Regions from separate parts of the Homo sapiens genome. Here all the other regions are linked to region 4. Evidence: promoter capture Hi-C in 16 types of primary human blood cells and fetal thymus (Javierre and others, 2016). All regions are on one chromosome and are shown on one strand. Each heading gives the region's core, a stretch centred on a gene start or on the middle of the fragment in contact. The rest is flanking DNA. Distances are from core to core; before and after follow the strand shown. Region 1 has its middle 7.4 kb from the start of OR4K15. Region 2 has its middle 16 kb from the start of OR11G2. Region 3 has its middle 20 kb from the start of OR4K1. Region 4 holds the start of OR4L1 (olfactory receptor family 4 subfamily L member 1). Region 5 has its middle 18 kb from the start of OR4N5. Region 6 holds the start of OR4N5 (olfactory receptor family 4 subfamily N member 5).

Region 1 (2,700 bases), core at 13-2,512, 92 kb before region 4:
TCCAAAAACTTGTACACAAGTGTTCACAGCAGCAGTACTATTGACAATCAAAACTGGAAACAACCCAAATTCCCATCAACTGATGAATGAATAAACAAAATTTCTATATCCTTACAATGGAATATTACATAGCTATAAGAGGGAATACAGTATTGATACATGTCATAACATGGATGAAACTTAAAAACAATATGCCAAGTTAAGGAAGCCAGACACATTATTATTATGTCATATCACTTATTAGAAATGTCCCGAATAGACAATTCCAAAGAGTCAGAAAATAGTTTAATGGTATCCAAGGGCTGCATTTAGGGAGAATGGGAAGTAAATGCTAATGGTTATGGGGTTTCTTTTGGGGTTGTGGAAAATGTTTCAGAGATAGACAGTGGTGATAGCTGCATAACCTTGTTAACATGATAAAATTTACTGAATTGTACACTTTAAAAGGATAAATTTCAGGTAAATGAATTATAAATCATTTTAAAAGAGAAGTAAACAGTATTCATGAATTTTTTATTTAAAAAAACAGTATGAACTTCCACTTCCAGCCATGAGGTACTACTGGATTTAATTTCGCTTCATAATCAATAGGAAAACTGGATAAAATATATCACTACATTGTGTTTAAGCATTAGTCTACATGCAACACAAGACTAAGATCCTTGAGAGAATAAAACATAAGATTAATATTATGATCAACACATTTTCCTCCATGGAGGTACTTTCCACATCTCAGGGCAGCAAAGGTAATTCAAAGCAGAGCACAGTTGACTTCATGAGTTAGAATCCAGAAAACGGAGTTCAGAGAGTTGGCACTTAGAATCCAGAAAATGGAGTTCAGAGAGTTGGCGATGGCCAAAATCTACATCCAGGACAACAACAACAACAACAGAAAAATTACATAGAAAAAAACTCTCCAGAAGTTTCTATGGGGCCCACTTGAGTTGTTACTGAATAGTAAGCTGAGTACACAAAGGCTAAAGCGCGGTGGCTCATGCCTATAATCCTAGCACTTTGGGAGGCCGAGGCGGGTGGATCACCTGAGATCGGGAGTTTGAGACCAGCCTGACCAACATAAAGAAACCCCGTCTCTACTAAAAATACAAAATTAGCCAGGCTTGGTGGCAGTTGCCTGTAATCCCAGCTACGTGGGAGGCTGAAGCAGGAGAATGGGTTGAACCTGGGAGGCGAAGATTGCAGTGAGCCGAGATCACGCCATTGCACTCCAGCCTGGGCAACAAGAGTGAAAACTCCATCTCAATAAATAAATAAAATGAAATAAACCCAAGAACTTAGTCGATCCTGGGCAATGCCTTAAATATCAGATAATTCCTTAATACTAAGGCTAAAGTAGCTTAGAGAAGCCTACTCTAAACCCATCCTAAAATATTTAAAAATAAAATGACATAATTAGCCTAGCCCACAAGTAACTTTGCGACTGAACGAAGACTACTACTTTTGAATAGGAAAAGAAAGAATCCAGCACTCAGAAATATTTTTAGTGTCCATTAATAAATGTAATAAAGCATAAAAATATACATCATAATGAGTAGAATTGGAAACTGATTCAAATAAGCTCAGAAATTACCAAGATGTGGAAATTAGAATAAAATAACTTTAAGAGAGCTGTCATAAGTATGCTCAAGTATATAAATAAAAAATATAAACAGAATGAAGAGAGGAATGGAATATATTAACAACATCAAGATTTCATGAGGTGAAAAATGTTAGACACCACAAAGGAAATTATCAGTAAACTAGAAGACACAGCAATAGAAAATCTCTAAACCAAAGTACAGAGACAAAAATGTGAAAGGAAAAACTGAACAGTGTCACAGCAATATGCAAGAGAATGCCAACTGGCCTAACACGTATGTAACTGGAGTTCCAGAGGAAAGGATAAAATGGGGAACAAAATGTTCTGAATTTGATTGAAAGTTATAATAAAAAAAGTCAAGAAGTTCTACCAACCTCAAGCGAGATAAATCAAAAGAAAATCACAAGAAGACATATCACAATTCATATGGGAAACTTGTCATACAGAAAATATCTTACGGTAGCCATGGATAAAAGAACAACCATATACTGAAAAACCAGGATTTGGATAACTGAGTACTTATTATAAAACAGGATTAGAATTGTTAAAAAAAAAACAGAATGAAAACAACAGAGTCCACACAATCATTTAAGTATGAAAAATATCCTTCAAAATGAAAGTGAAATGAAGACTTTGTAAGTCAAACAAAAGCAAGACATATCATGGTTGATATAATTCTACTACAAAAATGGAAAGTAAAGGAAGTCCCAAATTAAAAAAAAGTAGCAAGGTAGTAGACATAAACCCAACATATCATTTACATTATATGTAAATAGTATAAGAAGTCTACTAAAAGGCAGACATTGCTAGAATGAACAATACAAGCAACAGCCAACTATTTGCTGCCTACCTTGAATCCACTTTAAATATAAAGACACAGACTACTTAAACATAAAAAGATGAACAAAGATATACAATACAATGCAAATAGTAATTATAAAGGAGCTAAAGCAGTCATATCAATATCTGACTCTGTAGATTTCAGAAGAAAAAATATAATCAAAAGTAAAGAGAAGCATGTCATATGATAACGGGCTTAATCAATCATGAATACATACCAATCCTAATCTTTTTGCACCTAATCTCAGAGTTTAAAATAGATA
Region 2 (2,700 bases), core at 125-2,624, 120 kb after region 4:
TCAGGGTTGCAAGATCATAATTCTCAGGGTGTTTAAAGCAACACCTTCTGGAAGCCCCTGTACTATCAAAGCTGACTGGTCTTGTAGCATCTTCTCATATGGTACAGGTACCTCTGTGGGTTTTTGTAAAGCTTTCCCTGGGGGAGGTGAAAAGCAGATAAATGTCATTAAATTGTAAGATTAAAAAGCAAAATCATCACTACCTTATTGTGGCTTAATAAAGGCATACATGGTCTTTTGTAATATGTGATTTTAAAATGACTTAATACTACAGCACCCTATTCACATGTAAGAAGTTCTAAACCTGACACCAATCCAAAGGGCCACAATGAAAAGTATATTAAATATATGACTTTAAAAACTACACAAAAGGAGAGAAAAATGTCTGATTTCTTGCATTATTGTCTTTTTTTTAATTATACTTTAAGTTTTAGGGTACATGTGCACAACGTGCAGGTTTGTTACATAAGTATACATGTGCCATGTTGGTGTGCTGCACCCATTAACTCATCATTTAGCATTAGGTATATCTCCTAATGCTATCCCTCCCCCTTCCCCCCACCCCACAACAGTCCCCAGAGTGTGATGTTCCCCTTCCTGTGTTCATGTGTTCTCATTGTTCAATTCCCACCTATGAGTGAGAACATGTGGTGTTTGGTTTTTTGTCCTTGCAATAGTTTGCTGAGAATGATGGTTTCCAGCTACATCCATGTCTCTACAAAGGACATGGACTCATCATTTTTTATGGCTGCATAGTATTCCATGGTGTATATGTGCCACATTTTCTTAATCCAGTCTATCATTATTGGACATTTGGGTTGGTTCCAAGTCTTTGCTATTGTGAATAGTGCCACAGTAAACATTTATGCAGCCAAAAGACACATGAAAAAATGCTCATCATCACTGGCCATCAGAGAAATGCAAATCAAAACCACAGTGAGATACCATCTCACACCAGTTAGAATGGCGATCATTAAAAAGTCAGGAAACAACAGGTGCTGGAGAGGATGTGGAGAAAGAGGAACACTTTTACACTGTTGGTGGGACTGTAAACTAGTTCAACCATTGTGGAAGTCAGTGTGGTGATTCCTCAGGGATCTAGAACTAGAAATACCATTTGACCCAGCCATCCCATTATTGAGTATATACCCAAAGGATTATAAATCATGCTGCTATAAAGACACACGCACACGTATGTTTATTGCGGCACTATTCACAACCAGTATTTCTTAAGCTCTTACTGATCAGGCACTGGTCAAGGTACTCCATTTCATACAGTAATCTTTGCAACGGCCCTTAAGGCATAATTATGACCATTTTATAGTTAAGGAAACTAAGAAAGTATTAATTTCCTATGACTAGTAAAGAAAACTCTTGACTCTAAATCCAGGACTTTTTCTATCTTGTATAGCTGCCTACCACTTGTCCCAATCTGGAAAATTATCTTATCCTTACTTTTTAAAGTACTTTCTAGAAACAGATTGCCCAACATTACAGACGTGGCAGCCCCCTCACTGAACCTGCGCAAACAAAAAAGAGGAGGCAAGCGTGTTGTCATGAGACATCTCTGGGCTGGCTGAGGAGGGGGGTCAACCAAGTTGGGTGTCCAGACTTCTACTGTACTGAACTTTGGGGGAACATTAAAGTATCAGGGAAATGCCTTCTTATCACACTGCATGTGACACAGCTTGGCTCATTCAGTCATAGTCTATCTTCACCCCACTTTCTGGGGTTGACTAATTTAATGAGTAAACAGATTTTTTTAAGTAGTTTTTGTTGTTAATTAACTTGGTCCAAGCAGCCTGGGTACAAAAACACAGTGTTGTGCCCGTGTTCACATTGCCCTCTACAGCCAATGCAGGGTGAATCAGCTAGATTTTTTCTTTTTCTTTTGTTTTGTTTTTTTACTTTCTTTTCTTTTTCTTTTTTTTTTCAATCCAGCCGGGATTTCTGGCAGGTAAACATCATAGTTTCTTCTGCACAGAAGAGATGAGTAATAAAAGGTAAGTAACAATACAGTCTGGTTAAGACTGTTAGCTCAAAAGAACATAAAGCCATTCTGCAAAAGTATAGCCACCCAAAGTCATTCTGCCTTGAGGTGTTTCCAAACAGTGATTGGGAAAGGACGCAAAAAAATGTAAAGTTTTTTTCTTCTCTTCAAGTTTCCTGCTAAACCTATCTTAACATTGGATCGCTAATATCAGGTTCCACTGTTTATGTAACTAGAATGGTAACCAATGGATTTTGCAGACTCATATTCCCAATCCAGAAAATCAAAGACCTGTTTCAACAAGACAAAATTAAACCTGATTCTATTCCTCAGCTCCATCTACCCTTGATGGCTGGGGAACTCTTTTAACAGAAGTGAGAAGCAGCTACCTACTATTAATTTGAACATTTTACTCCTGAAATTGGTAAATTGCATTACCAAATAGCATGAATTAATGAGTTAGTTCACTATCTCAAAAGAGAAAAGTGATTTCAAATAGATCCAAGGGTCCTTTGTTCCACAGACACACAATCTGAGTCAGCCTTGCCCAAAATTATTGTGTGGATGTGATCCCTTTCTGGGAAATAAGAAAGTGTATTTATTCATTCATTTTATGGGTATTTATTGAAAGCTTTCTAAGTACAAAGCACTGTGCTAATGCCTAATCACCTCTGGTGAAGTAACTTCTCAAATTGACTTCAAGCCAGTGA
Region 3 (2,823 bases), core at 91-2,590, 110 kb before region 4:
TCTATTTAGTTTCTGTGGGAAGGATATACAATAGAAGAGCCAAAAGAAACAATATTCAAGCAGACAAAAGAGAAATGGAAACTCCCTAAAGTGGAAAGGGATTGTGTGTTCCAGAAAATGAAAGCAGGAATTTAGTGAATGACCAATGAGTGAGACGAAATGAAGCTGAAGGTTAATATGTAAAATACAGGATAGGAAGGGCTCATTATGGATATTGGATTATATTTCTAGAGCAATGGGGACTATGATGGTCCCTTGGTGTCTACGGGGAATTGGTTCCAAGACCCCCGCAGATACCAAAACCCATGGATGCTTCAGTCCCTTGTATAAAGTGGTGTAGCATTTGCATATAACCTATGCACATTCTCCCGTATACTTTTAAATCATCTCTAAATTACTTATAATATCTAATACGATGTCTACATATCACTTCTTTTAAGTGAATTCAATGTAGTACTTGATGTGTTGCAAATTTCAGTTTTGATTTTGAAGATCTGTGGAATTGTTTTTTTCTAAATACTTTTGATCCGTGATTGATTGAATCCATAGACACAGAACCCACATATACAGAGGAATGACTGCATGTTTATCATTTTAAAGTTGTTTGACTTATTTATCTTATTTTTAAAGATTTATCTTATTTTTAAAGACTGCTCTGAGCATTCAGGAGAAATTGACTGGAAAAAAAAATCAGTGCAGAGAGTTGGAGATTATTAGAAGGCCTTTGAAACATTTAAGGAGAAAGAAAGGGATGGTTTAGACAAGGGAAATTGTAATAGAAAGCTTTGATGGATTGGGCATATTTTAGAGAAAGGTACAGCAGGACTGGAAGTGGGAGTGAGAAAATAGAAGAAGTGAAGTTTCTGGCTGAAACCACTGGGGCAATAGAAATGCCATTACCTGGGTTAAGGGAGACTAAAGGAGGACTAGATTTGGAAACAGAAGAATTGAAATGACTGTGAAAATTAAAGAGAAGATGTGAAGAAGAAACGTGATCTATCAGTCTGGGCTGATGACTGGGCTCCTCTCCTCAATTAAGCTCATCAAACTTCCTGGGCACTCACTCTGTGTCACAACATTTACTTTTGTCTTTGTCCCCTGCTCTTCTCTGTAGATTTCCTAAGTCCTTCTACAGCTCTAATGGGATATGTTTCCACAATATCCAAAAGCAAGCTATTTTTATATCTGGGCAGTTTTACCCACTTATGTCTAAGATTCTTTTCTGATTCTGTTATATGGTCAAGTACTGTGTAGTGATAATTAAAATATTGGATAATTTTGGCAAAATATTGTGTGGTATGGAATTTGAAAACCTTTGACATAAAAATTTTCAAGAAAAGGAAGAAATATAAGATTAGAGAAAGCAAAATTCTAATTTTCTTAGACCCATTGCCAGATTTATATTTCTTTGGATCTAATTTTCTTTAGGCCCTGTGCATGTGTGCTAGTGCTTACTGGCACAGTCACTTTAGATAAGGACAAAGAAAGCACATGGATAGAGGCAGAACATTAAATGAGGGCAAATATAGTTGTTGCAAACTTTGAGGTCACTACATTTCTCTCTCATGACATATGTTCTCATTTGCAATTATAGGCAAACAATTTAAAAGTTCTTACCATCTTGATATGGGGGAGAAGCAACCAAAATATTGTTAATAACTCCCATAGCAAGATGAATTCACTTAACAAAGTTCATTTTTTAATTGGCTTTCGCAATTCATGGGATTGGTTATCTGAGACTTTTGGGAGTGTCATGATATTTAAATAGTTCCTTTATAGGCTCCTGTGATTCTCTTTTTAAAATTATTTTTTAAAAAGTTTTGGAAGCATCTTCTCTTCACCCTGTTGTTACTTTCCTGAGATTTATCTCAAAATTGGTATGTGGAATTTAATCGCATCAAGCTTAAAAGCAACTGTACATGTTGCCATTCAGAGAGATAAAGGGATTCTGGGCTAAAGTTATTACCACAGTCAAGGCAACCTGTGTTTTTGAGCATGAGGACTTGGGGTTTGGGCGTGAGAGCCTAATATAAAACAAAACAGCGAATTATTGCTGTTTTGACTGATTATTGTCACTGCTAACACAAGCATGGGATTGAAGTAGCAAGATAAAAGTGAGCATGTTGATGTATAGTTCAGAAAGAGCAGAGAATATAATTGGGCACTACTTTGTTATCTTAGAGGTGGGAGGATCACTTGAGGCCAGGAGGTCCAGGCTGCCGTGAGCCATGATCACATAGTTGCACTACAGCCTGAGTGACAGCGCAAGACCCTGTCTCTTAAAATAATAATAATACTGATAAATTATTTTAGTGACCAGGTAGACATCCTTAGATAGATGTTTTCAGTAATCAGATCCTTAATTGAGCAATATGTAGCAGTTAAACATATGTTCTTTGCACATTCAAATCTTCAGACTACCAGTGTGCCTTGTGACACTAACTTTAGCACTAAATTGTAGCTGCTTCTAACACAAAGTTAGGATTATAGTAATATTTACTTTATAGCATTGTAAGGATAATAAGGTAATTATTGGTCACATATCACTGTAAGATAACTAAATCAATCTCGTCATACCCAAAAGCCTTTATTCAACTTAATTATCTACATAGTAAGAAGCCGGTTTCTTCCCATAAATGATTATCTTCATTACCAAACTATCTTCTTTCTCTTCTACAACTTTGATTGATTCTTTTCATGTCTGACATCTGTACCACTAAGACCTTTACATGTACCTATTTGTTAATCTGGGCTGTGCAATCTAGAGTTTGAGCCACAGAAGATTCTACAATTTGACCTCTTGCCTTATAACCTTTGCTTCTT
Region 4 (2,700 bases), core at 21-2,520:
TTTACATTAGGATTTACTCTTGATGTTATACATGCTATGGGTTTTGACAAATGTGTTATGTATTTCTAAGTATAGTAGATAAGAATTGTTTCAATACCCTGCAAATTCTCCGTACTTCTCTTATTTCTTCATTTCTCCTTCTTCATTCAAACCCCTGGAAACCACTGAACGTTTAACTGTCTCCAGTTTTTTCTTAGTTTATTTCAAATAAAAGACATGCAACTTTTCCTTTTACTTGAACACTTAGAGGCTATTGCAAAGCTATTAATTGGCCTAAATCCAATATTGTTGTATCTCAAAGAATAGAGAGGCCTGAAGAGAAGGAGAGAGATGAGGGAAGAGTAGGTTGGTGGAGCCGTTAGAAACAACATTTATCAATTGTCTGCCATTCTACATGGGCACGGCTTGTGGTGCCCAAAAATAATGAAAATAGTAACATAAAAGATTACTGGTCACAGATCAAATAACGTGTAATAATAATAATAAAGTTTGAAATAAATATTTTGGGAATTACCAAAATGTGACACAGAGACATAAAGTGAGCACATGCTGTTGGAAAAATGGTGCCAATAGACTTGCTGGATCCAGGGTTGTCACAAACCCTCAGTTTATAAAACATTAAATAACTGCAAAGGACAATAAAGTGAAACACAATAAAAGAGGTATACATGTATATTAAAAAGAAAAATTATTTTAAATAAATTTATATACTTTCATCCATGTATAATTTGCTCCTGATTTGTGTGTGTGTGTGTGTGTGCTTTTTGTTTGTTTGTTTGCTTATTTAGTTTAGAACCATAGAAAAACCTTCATAAATTACTTCAGAGATGTAGAACAATGTAATTCTTCATTTTCTAAATCTTGTATTCCTTATATATTGGGATAACATAATCTCAAGAAGTGCAGGTACAGAATACTATAATAATAAAAGGCAAAATAAAAAGTAATTAATTAGTATCTAATCTTTATATGTGAACAAATGAGTAAGAAAGTCAAGATCCATTGATAAGAGTATGATTTTATGGAATAAACAATAGAAAATGGAACTTCTACTTCTTCAAATGATTTGTAATTACTGCAGAGTAATTGTTTCAAAGTGATATAATATTTAAGCTAATCTCTGTGTTGATATATTTAAAATTATATGATCTCATATCATCAACTATTATCACCAACTAATAGAAATAAGAAAATATTGGTGTTAACTGTGACTTATTTTTTAATTCTCTTTGTATATAAAGAACTTCTGGAACCTTTCTGAGTTGAGTAAATGGATCTTAAAAATGGATCTCTAGTGACCGAGTTTATTTTACTAGGATTTTTTGGACGATGGGAACTTCAAATTTTCTTCTTTGTGACATTTTCCCTGATCTACGGTGCTACTGTGATGGGAAACATTCTCATTATGGTCACAGTGACATGTAGGTCAACCCTTCATTCTCCCTTGTACTTTCTCCTTGGAAATCTCTCTTTTTTGGACATGTGTCTCTCCACTGCCACAACACCCAAGATGATCATAGATTTGCTCACTGACCACAAGACCATCTCTGTGTGGGGCTGCGTGACCCAGATGTTCTTCATGCACTTCTTTGGGGGTGCTGAGATGACTCTTCTGATAATCATGGCCTTTGACAGGTATGTAGCCATATGTAAACCCCTGCACTATAGGACAATCATGAGCCACAAGCTGCTAAAGGGGTTTGCGATACTTTCATGGATAATTGGTTTTTTACACTCCATAAGCCAGATAGTTTTAACAATGAACTTGCCTTTCTGTGGCCACAATGTCATAAACAACATATTTTGTGATCTTCCCCTTGTGATCAAGCTTGCTTGCATTGAAACATACACCCTGGAATTATTTGTCATTGCTGACAGCGGGCTGCTCTCTTTCACCTGTTTCATCCTCTTGCTTGTTTCTTACATTGTCATCCTGGTCAGTGTACCAAAAAAATCATCACATGGGCTCTCCAAGGCGCTGTCCACATTGTCTGCCCACATCATTGTGGTCACTCTGTTCTTTGGACCTTGTATTTTTATCTATGTTTGGCCATTCAGTAGTTTGGCAAGCAATAAAACTCTTGCCGTATTTTATACAGTTATCACACCCTTACTGAATCCGAGTATTTATACCCTGAGAAATAAGAAAATGCAAGAGGCCATAAGAAAATTACGGTTCCAATATGTTAGTTCTGCACAGAATTTCTAGATGTTAGCACTATATAATTAACTTTTAAATGCTACGATAAGATAGTTTGAATAGATTATGTATAATGCATCATTTCACTTTTCTTATGTTATAATAATAACGCATAAAGACAATACTAAATTACTTTAAATTTTACATTTAAGACTTTTATAAACATAAGGATAGAGATCTGCAGCAAAATAGACATAAAAATAGACATAAATAAACATAAAAAGATTATTGAGGATTTTTATCATATACATTCAATATATTCATTAATAAAGAAACAACTGTAAATGAATACATGAAGATATGAATATTATTAGAGGTTATTTTAATATATATTGATAATGTTATTCATAAATTTATACTATTATTAAATGAGGTATCATGAACAAGTCATGAATTAAATAATGTTAACAGAAAAAGCAATTCTAGTTTCTTGAATCAATGGAGGCAAAAAGTAAGAATGAGTCCACAAATTCAACAGCACAGTGACTATAAGATGCCAG
Region 5 (2,700 bases), core at 158-2,657, 97 kb after region 4:
GTTTGTTATATTGATTATTTCATCATCCAGGTATTAAGCTTAGAATCCATTACTTATTTTTCATGATCCTCTCCCTCGTCCCATCCTCCATCCTTTGATAAGCCCCATTGTCTGTTGTTCCCCTCTATGTCTGTGTCATTTAGCTGCCACTTACAAGTGAGAACATATGGTATGTAGTTTTCTGTTCCTGCATTAGTTTGCTAAGGATAATAGCCTCCAGCTCCATCCATATTTCTGCAAAGGAGTATTTATATTTCCACTCATAAGTATTGGTTTTCTATTCCTGTGTTAGTTTGCTTAGGATAATGGCCTCCAGCTCCATTCAGGTTGCTGCAAAGTATATGATCTCATTCTTTATTTTATGGCTGCATTGTATTTCATGGAGTATATGTACCACATTTTCTTTATCCAGTCTCCCATTGATGGCATTTAGGTTGAATCTATGTCTTTGCTATTGTGAATAGTGCTTCAATGAACATACGCGTGCATGTGCCTTTATGGTGGAACAATTTATATTCCTTTGGGTGTATACCCAGTAATGGGATTGCTGGGTTAAATGGTAGCTCTATTCTTACGTCTCTGAGGAATTGCCACAGTTTTCCATAAAGGTTGCACTAATTTACACTTCACTGGTACAAAAAAGGATGCATAGACCAATGGAACAGAATAGAGAGCCCAGAAATATGGCTGCATACCTACAATAATCTCATCTTTGATGAAGTTGACAAAAGTAATGGGGAAAGGATTCCTAATCAATAAATGGTGCTGGGATAACTTGCTAGCCATATGCAGAAGATTGAAACTGGACCTCTTCCTTACACCATATACAAAAATTAACTCAAGATGTATTAAAGACTCAAATGTAAAACCAAAAACTATAAAAACTCTGTAAGACAACCAGGCAATACCATTCAGGACATGGGAACAAATATTTCATGACAAAGACACCAAAAGCAAAAATTGACAAATGGGATCTAATAAAACTAAAGAGCTTCTGCACAGCAAAAGAAACTATCAAGAGAGTAAACAGCCAACCCACAGAATTGGAGAAAACTTTTACAAACTATATCTGACAAAGGTCTAATATCCACATCTATAAGAAATATAAACAAACTTACAAGAAAAAAATAACCCCATTAAAAATTGGGCAAATGACATGAACAGACACTTTTCAAAAGAAGACATACATGTGGCCAACAAATATATGAAAAAAAAAACTCAACTTCACTGATCATTAGAGAAATGCAAATCAAAACCACAATGAGATACCATCTCTCACCAGTCAGATGGCTATTATTAAAAAGTAAAAAAATAACAGATGCTGGCAAGGTTGTGGAGAAAAAGGAATGCTTATACAAAGTTTTTGAAAGACAGACAACTGAAAACATTTTAGAGCCTAAGATACTTTCAGAGGAGAGCAGGTACAAAAAGGTGACCAAGTGACATGAGCATTTGAGAGCAAACAGTGTGGCAGGCACCTAGAGTAAATAATATGTAATAAGAAAGAAAACACTACTTAAAAAGAGGTGAACTATTCTTCAGAGAGAAAGTTTTAGACAGCAATTTGTCAAATACACTGTATCTCATATTTATATTTGAGTTGATAAAAGTTAAAATCAAATTAGCTAATAAATAACAAAACCCTGAAATGGGGCTAGAATAATGGATCCATAAACAATGATGATAGATATATTAATAATAGATTCATTAAGTACTGGGCCTGAGAAACCACTGAGAGTTGGAGCTCAACCACCTTATTTTACCAATGAAGAAACTGAACCCAGAGGAAAAGATAAGGCAGCTATTGGAGATAAAGCTGGTTCCAGTATCAGTCTGCCATCTTCATTTCAACATTCTTTTCAAATATCATGCTGATCCTTTTTTAAAAAAAAAATTTATTTTAGGTTCAGGGGTACATGCACAGGTTCGTGATACAGGTAAACTTGGGGATTTGTTGTACAGACAATGTTGTGACCCAGGTACTAAGCCTAGTATCCAATAGTTATTTTTTCCTGCTCCTCTCCCTACTCCCACCCTACTACTACCCTCTGGTAGGCCCCAGTGTCTGCTGTTCCCCACTTTGTGTGCACATGTTTGCCTTAAGTTCATAGAATTCAGAGAAGGATAAAGATCATGACTATCCATATGACATCTCTTGGTTCATATTAACTAACTAGAGTGACATTTCTAGACTGTGGACTCCAATTATCACTAGATCAGTGTTATTTCCATGAATATGAATGTAGGTCTGTTGAAGACTATAGCTAATGTATGAATTACAAAACCAAGTTTACTCAAAGTATACAATTTTATAAAGACAAGTGAGATGCGACATGGGAGCTAAAAGCAGAAAGCAAGATATTTAGATGTCACGAGAAATGTCACTTGTACTCACAGTGTATTTCTTGCTTCCTCTAGAATATGCAGTCAAGGTTAGAATGTGATGGGGCTAGTCAGTGTCTCAAAATATTGATTCCTGCTACTTAAACACAGCTGCCTTTGCAACTTATGGGCCTTGTAAAAGCATTTCTAGAAATGTGGGTTTCTGCCACAGCAAGCCATGGGTAATGACAGTCACATTAGAGAACAGTCATCTCTGCCAGAAAGCTCTGGAAGTTCAGGAGGGAAACTACAGCAGTCTCTTTCACTGCAAACTTTACTGCATCACTTATCCAGACCAGTTTTATATCTGCTGGATCA
Region 6 (2,809 bases), core at 57-2,556, 78 kb after region 4:
CCAGGCAAAGTTACCAACATCATCTTTTGTACTTGGTACTGCAACATCTTCAAACTGTTCTCCTTGCTCCTATACTTGCCTCCCTCAAACCCATTCTCCACACAATAGCCAGAACGACCTGAAGATTACAATTGTTGACATTATAATTACACACTGAGAATAACCTCCAAATGCCATGAGCTGGATAACATCTGCCTACCTCTCTAATGTTGCCTTATACTTTTCCTTCTTATGCTCACCATTTCCTCATCATGATGGTCTCCTTTCTGTGCCTTACTGTACCAGCTCAATCCTCTTCCACAGTCTCCATTCTCGTTCTTCACATTGCCTGAAATGCCCTACCCTAGTCATTCAAACCTCAGCTTAACTTTCAGCTCCTCAGGGATAACTTTTCTAACTACTCAATCTAAAATAACAGCACCACCCCCCGCCCTCATTCACCCTCCAACACATCCCTCTGTTATATTCTTTCATTCTCCCACATTTTACTGTCTTTTTTGTTGTTGTTGTTGTTCTTTGTCTGGCTCCCTCCACTGGAATGTCAAATCCCTGAGACCGAGGACCTTGTATATAATAACCAGTGCCTAATCACTTACCTATGTAATAAGTTTTCCAAATGATAAACACCTAAAACCTTTTGTAAAGTAAGGAAATATATTTTCAGTTTTTTAGATGACAAAACATCGGAGGAAGTTTTTGACATTTTCTCAAAAAACAGAACCATCATGGTTGGAACCAGGACTGCAAACTTGTCTTTTGAGCTCCAGTCTTGTGCTAGTTTCACCACATTTGGATGCCTTGTTTAGAAAGCTAGTTCAGGCCACTCTGAGATACATCTTTTAAAACACACAGACATTCACACAAACATACATCTTTCTTTTTAATAGTATAAAATTGCCTAAGATGAAAAAGCATTCTCAGCAGAGGGGAAAGGTCTATTTTGCACTAGTTAATATCTCAGTTAAAATATCTTCTTCTAACTAATTCTAAAGCATTGTTGTCAATATTGAGAAGTGACATCCCTGGGAAGTCCCTTAATTGCATAAAACAAAACTAAAGTGAAAAATAAAAAACAAAAACAAAACAAAATAATTTGCATTCTCAGAAATATCTTTACCACTCTATCTTTCTCTCTCCATCCATTCCCTTCTCTTATCCTGTCTTTTTTTTTTTCTAAACCTGTGTTTACGGCTTTGTGGTACAAGCATCTCTGTGGGCATTGTTTCTCTTTCTATCCATCTTTTCTCCTATTTTTTTGTGTATGCTTTTTCTCTTTTTTGCCTCTGTTCTCTCTCTTGCAATTATCTTGTATTTCTAACTTTGTATCTTTCTGGGACTGTATTATACTGCTATGCTTTCACCCAAGGAAAATGGTATATGTTAGAAGTTGCAGCACTGATCATAATAGGAAAGAAACCTGCTAAAATGTTATCTACCTCTCTTCATCTCTGTCCACTTTTAAACATCTCTGACTGCATCTCTGGCTGAGCTGGGCATAAACATGAATGAAAGCATACTTGACTGTGTATTGAATTTGCTTTATTAAATTTAAGTTTGGTATTTTAATTTTAATGTGACTCTGAGGAATGGCATCTTTCTTTATAATGTGTTACAAAAAAAACTTACATTGATTTTTTTCTTGTATGATTAGATATTTTTATGTTATATTATTTCATTAAAAACCAGAAAGCTCATTATCCTATAGCAGGGCTTAGGAACCATATATTCAAAAAAACCAATAATACAATAGAGTATTTCTTCTTTTACTTGAGGGGCACTCCCCTGGAGGAACTGGTCTACAAGATGCATAAAGTTCTTTTTATTTAAAGACAAACTTTGAAATGATAATAATTTAGATATACTGAGTTAAATGAAGCATTATTAACATTGAATTAATCATTAATCATTTTGCCTAATAAGTGTATGGGACATTCCATTATCACTGCCACTGATAAAATACCAAATTCAAAACCCTAACATGATTCAATGGGGTATTCACTGGCATGTGTTTTGAATATTTAATCTTTAAAATGTTCTTGTCTCTTTCTTTGTCTAATTCTAATTGGCAGTCTAATAATTCCCATTGGTAGAACTCTGCAGAATTCAGGTAGCGGTAAAACCCCAAAGTACATTCTCTATTGCATTAATTGTATTACAAATGAATAGAGATTTCAGAATTTATAATATTCCAACATGAGAATATATATTTAAGCACAAATTCTGAAATAATTAGCTAATCTCCCTTTTATCAGACAGAAAAGAATAGCCACTTGTTTGAGAGTAGCATTTGGCTCCCGGCAAGGTAAAATTTTTTATCATTCTTTATATTTAAATTAAATAGAGAAAAAGAAAAAAAAAGAAAAATTATACTATTTGTCTTGGTTATCTGCTGCCTTGAAATTTATGAGAACAGAATTCTGCTGCAGAAACAGAGTAAGGGTGAGTTGTAAATTCAGGTGTTCAGCACTTTTCTCAAATATACCTGTTTCTCAAATAAACCTCCTATTATCTAATACTTAGTACTATTTTAAAGGTGCTAAAATTTTTAATTCTACTATTGTTTTAAAAATAAAAATACCAATTGATTATGAAGATTCACCACCTGGATTTCAATTTGTATATAATACAAATGACTGATTTCATCTTTATCCTAAACCAAAGGTAAAGGGAGGAAGAGTGAAGGAATCACAATCAGTCAAAAAGGGCAGGCTGAGTCTCAGAGACAAACTTCATTGACTTCACAAGTTTGGAAACCTCTGGTTCCACACTCAGTTACATGTGTTTCCCCATCTGCACATGGTCCTTACAT

What was found. Contacts are between HindIII fragments. The CHiCAGO score rates a contact against its expected background, and 5 or more counts as called.
Region 1: a fragment that was not itself captured here is called in contact with the fragment with the promoter of OR4L1 in region 4 in 1 of 17 cell types (neutrophils); the score reaches 8.9 in neutrophils.
Region 2: a contact is called between a fragment that was not itself captured here and the fragment with the promoter of OR4L1 in region 4, in 3 of 17 cell types (M2 macrophages, M1 macrophages and neutrophils). The highest score is 6.7, in M2 macrophages.
Region 3: a contact is called between a fragment that was not itself captured here and the fragment with the promoter of OR4L1 in region 4, in 5 of 17 cell types (total CD4 T cells, naive CD4 T cells, naive CD8 T cells and 2 more). The highest score is 7.3, in total CD4 T cells.
Region 5: a fragment that was not itself captured here is called in contact with the fragment with the promoter of OR4L1 in region 4 in 2 of 17 cell types (M2 macrophages and M1 macrophages); the score reaches 8.8 in M2 macrophages.
Region 6: a fragment that was not itself captured here is called in contact with the fragment with the promoter of OR4L1 in region 4 in 10 of 17 cell types (M2 macrophages, M1 macrophages, naive CD4 T cells and 7 more); the score reaches 11.0 in M2 macrophages.

The regions. Positions count from the first base shown.
Region 1 is chr14:19,966,835-19,969,534 of GRCh38, forward strand. No RefSeq gene overlaps it. Among named protein-coding and RNA genes, the nearest start is that of OR4K15, 7.4 kb to the right of the region's middle. The HindIII fragment of the contact is 6,542 bases long and covers 1-2,700 here.
Region 2 is chr14:20,173,674-20,176,373 of GRCh38, forward strand. It overlaps the pseudogene GTF2IP22. Among named protein-coding and RNA genes, the nearest start is that of OR11G2, 16 kb to the right of the region's middle. The HindIII fragment of the contact is 2,490 bases long and covers 130-2,619 here.
Region 3 is chr14:19,949,371-19,952,193 of GRCh38, forward strand. No RefSeq gene overlaps it. Among named protein-coding and RNA genes, the nearest start is that of OR4K1, 20 kb to the left of the region's middle. The HindIII fragment of the contact is 1,119 bases long and covers 782-1,900 here.
Region 4 is chr14:20,058,775-20,061,474 of GRCh38, forward strand. OR4L1 (olfactory receptor family 4 subfamily L member 1) reads left to right here and starts at 1,271. Exons shown (of 1, transcript NM_001004717.1): 1 at 1,271-2,209. The coding sequence starts at 1,271. The coding sequence ends at 2,209. The HindIII fragment of the contact is 2,043 bases long and covers 1-1,826 here.
Region 5 is chr14:20,155,244-20,157,943 of GRCh38, forward strand. No RefSeq gene overlaps it. Among named protein-coding and RNA genes, the nearest start is that of OR4N5, 18 kb to the left of the region's middle. The HindIII fragment of the contact is 2,743 bases long and covers 37-2,700 here.
Region 6 is chr14:20,136,589-20,139,397 of GRCh38, forward strand. OR4N5 (olfactory receptor family 4 subfamily N member 5) reads left to right here and starts at 2,232. Exons shown (of 3, transcript NM_001004724.2): 1 at 2,232-2,302. The HindIII fragment of the contact is 3,856 bases long and covers 1-2,809 here.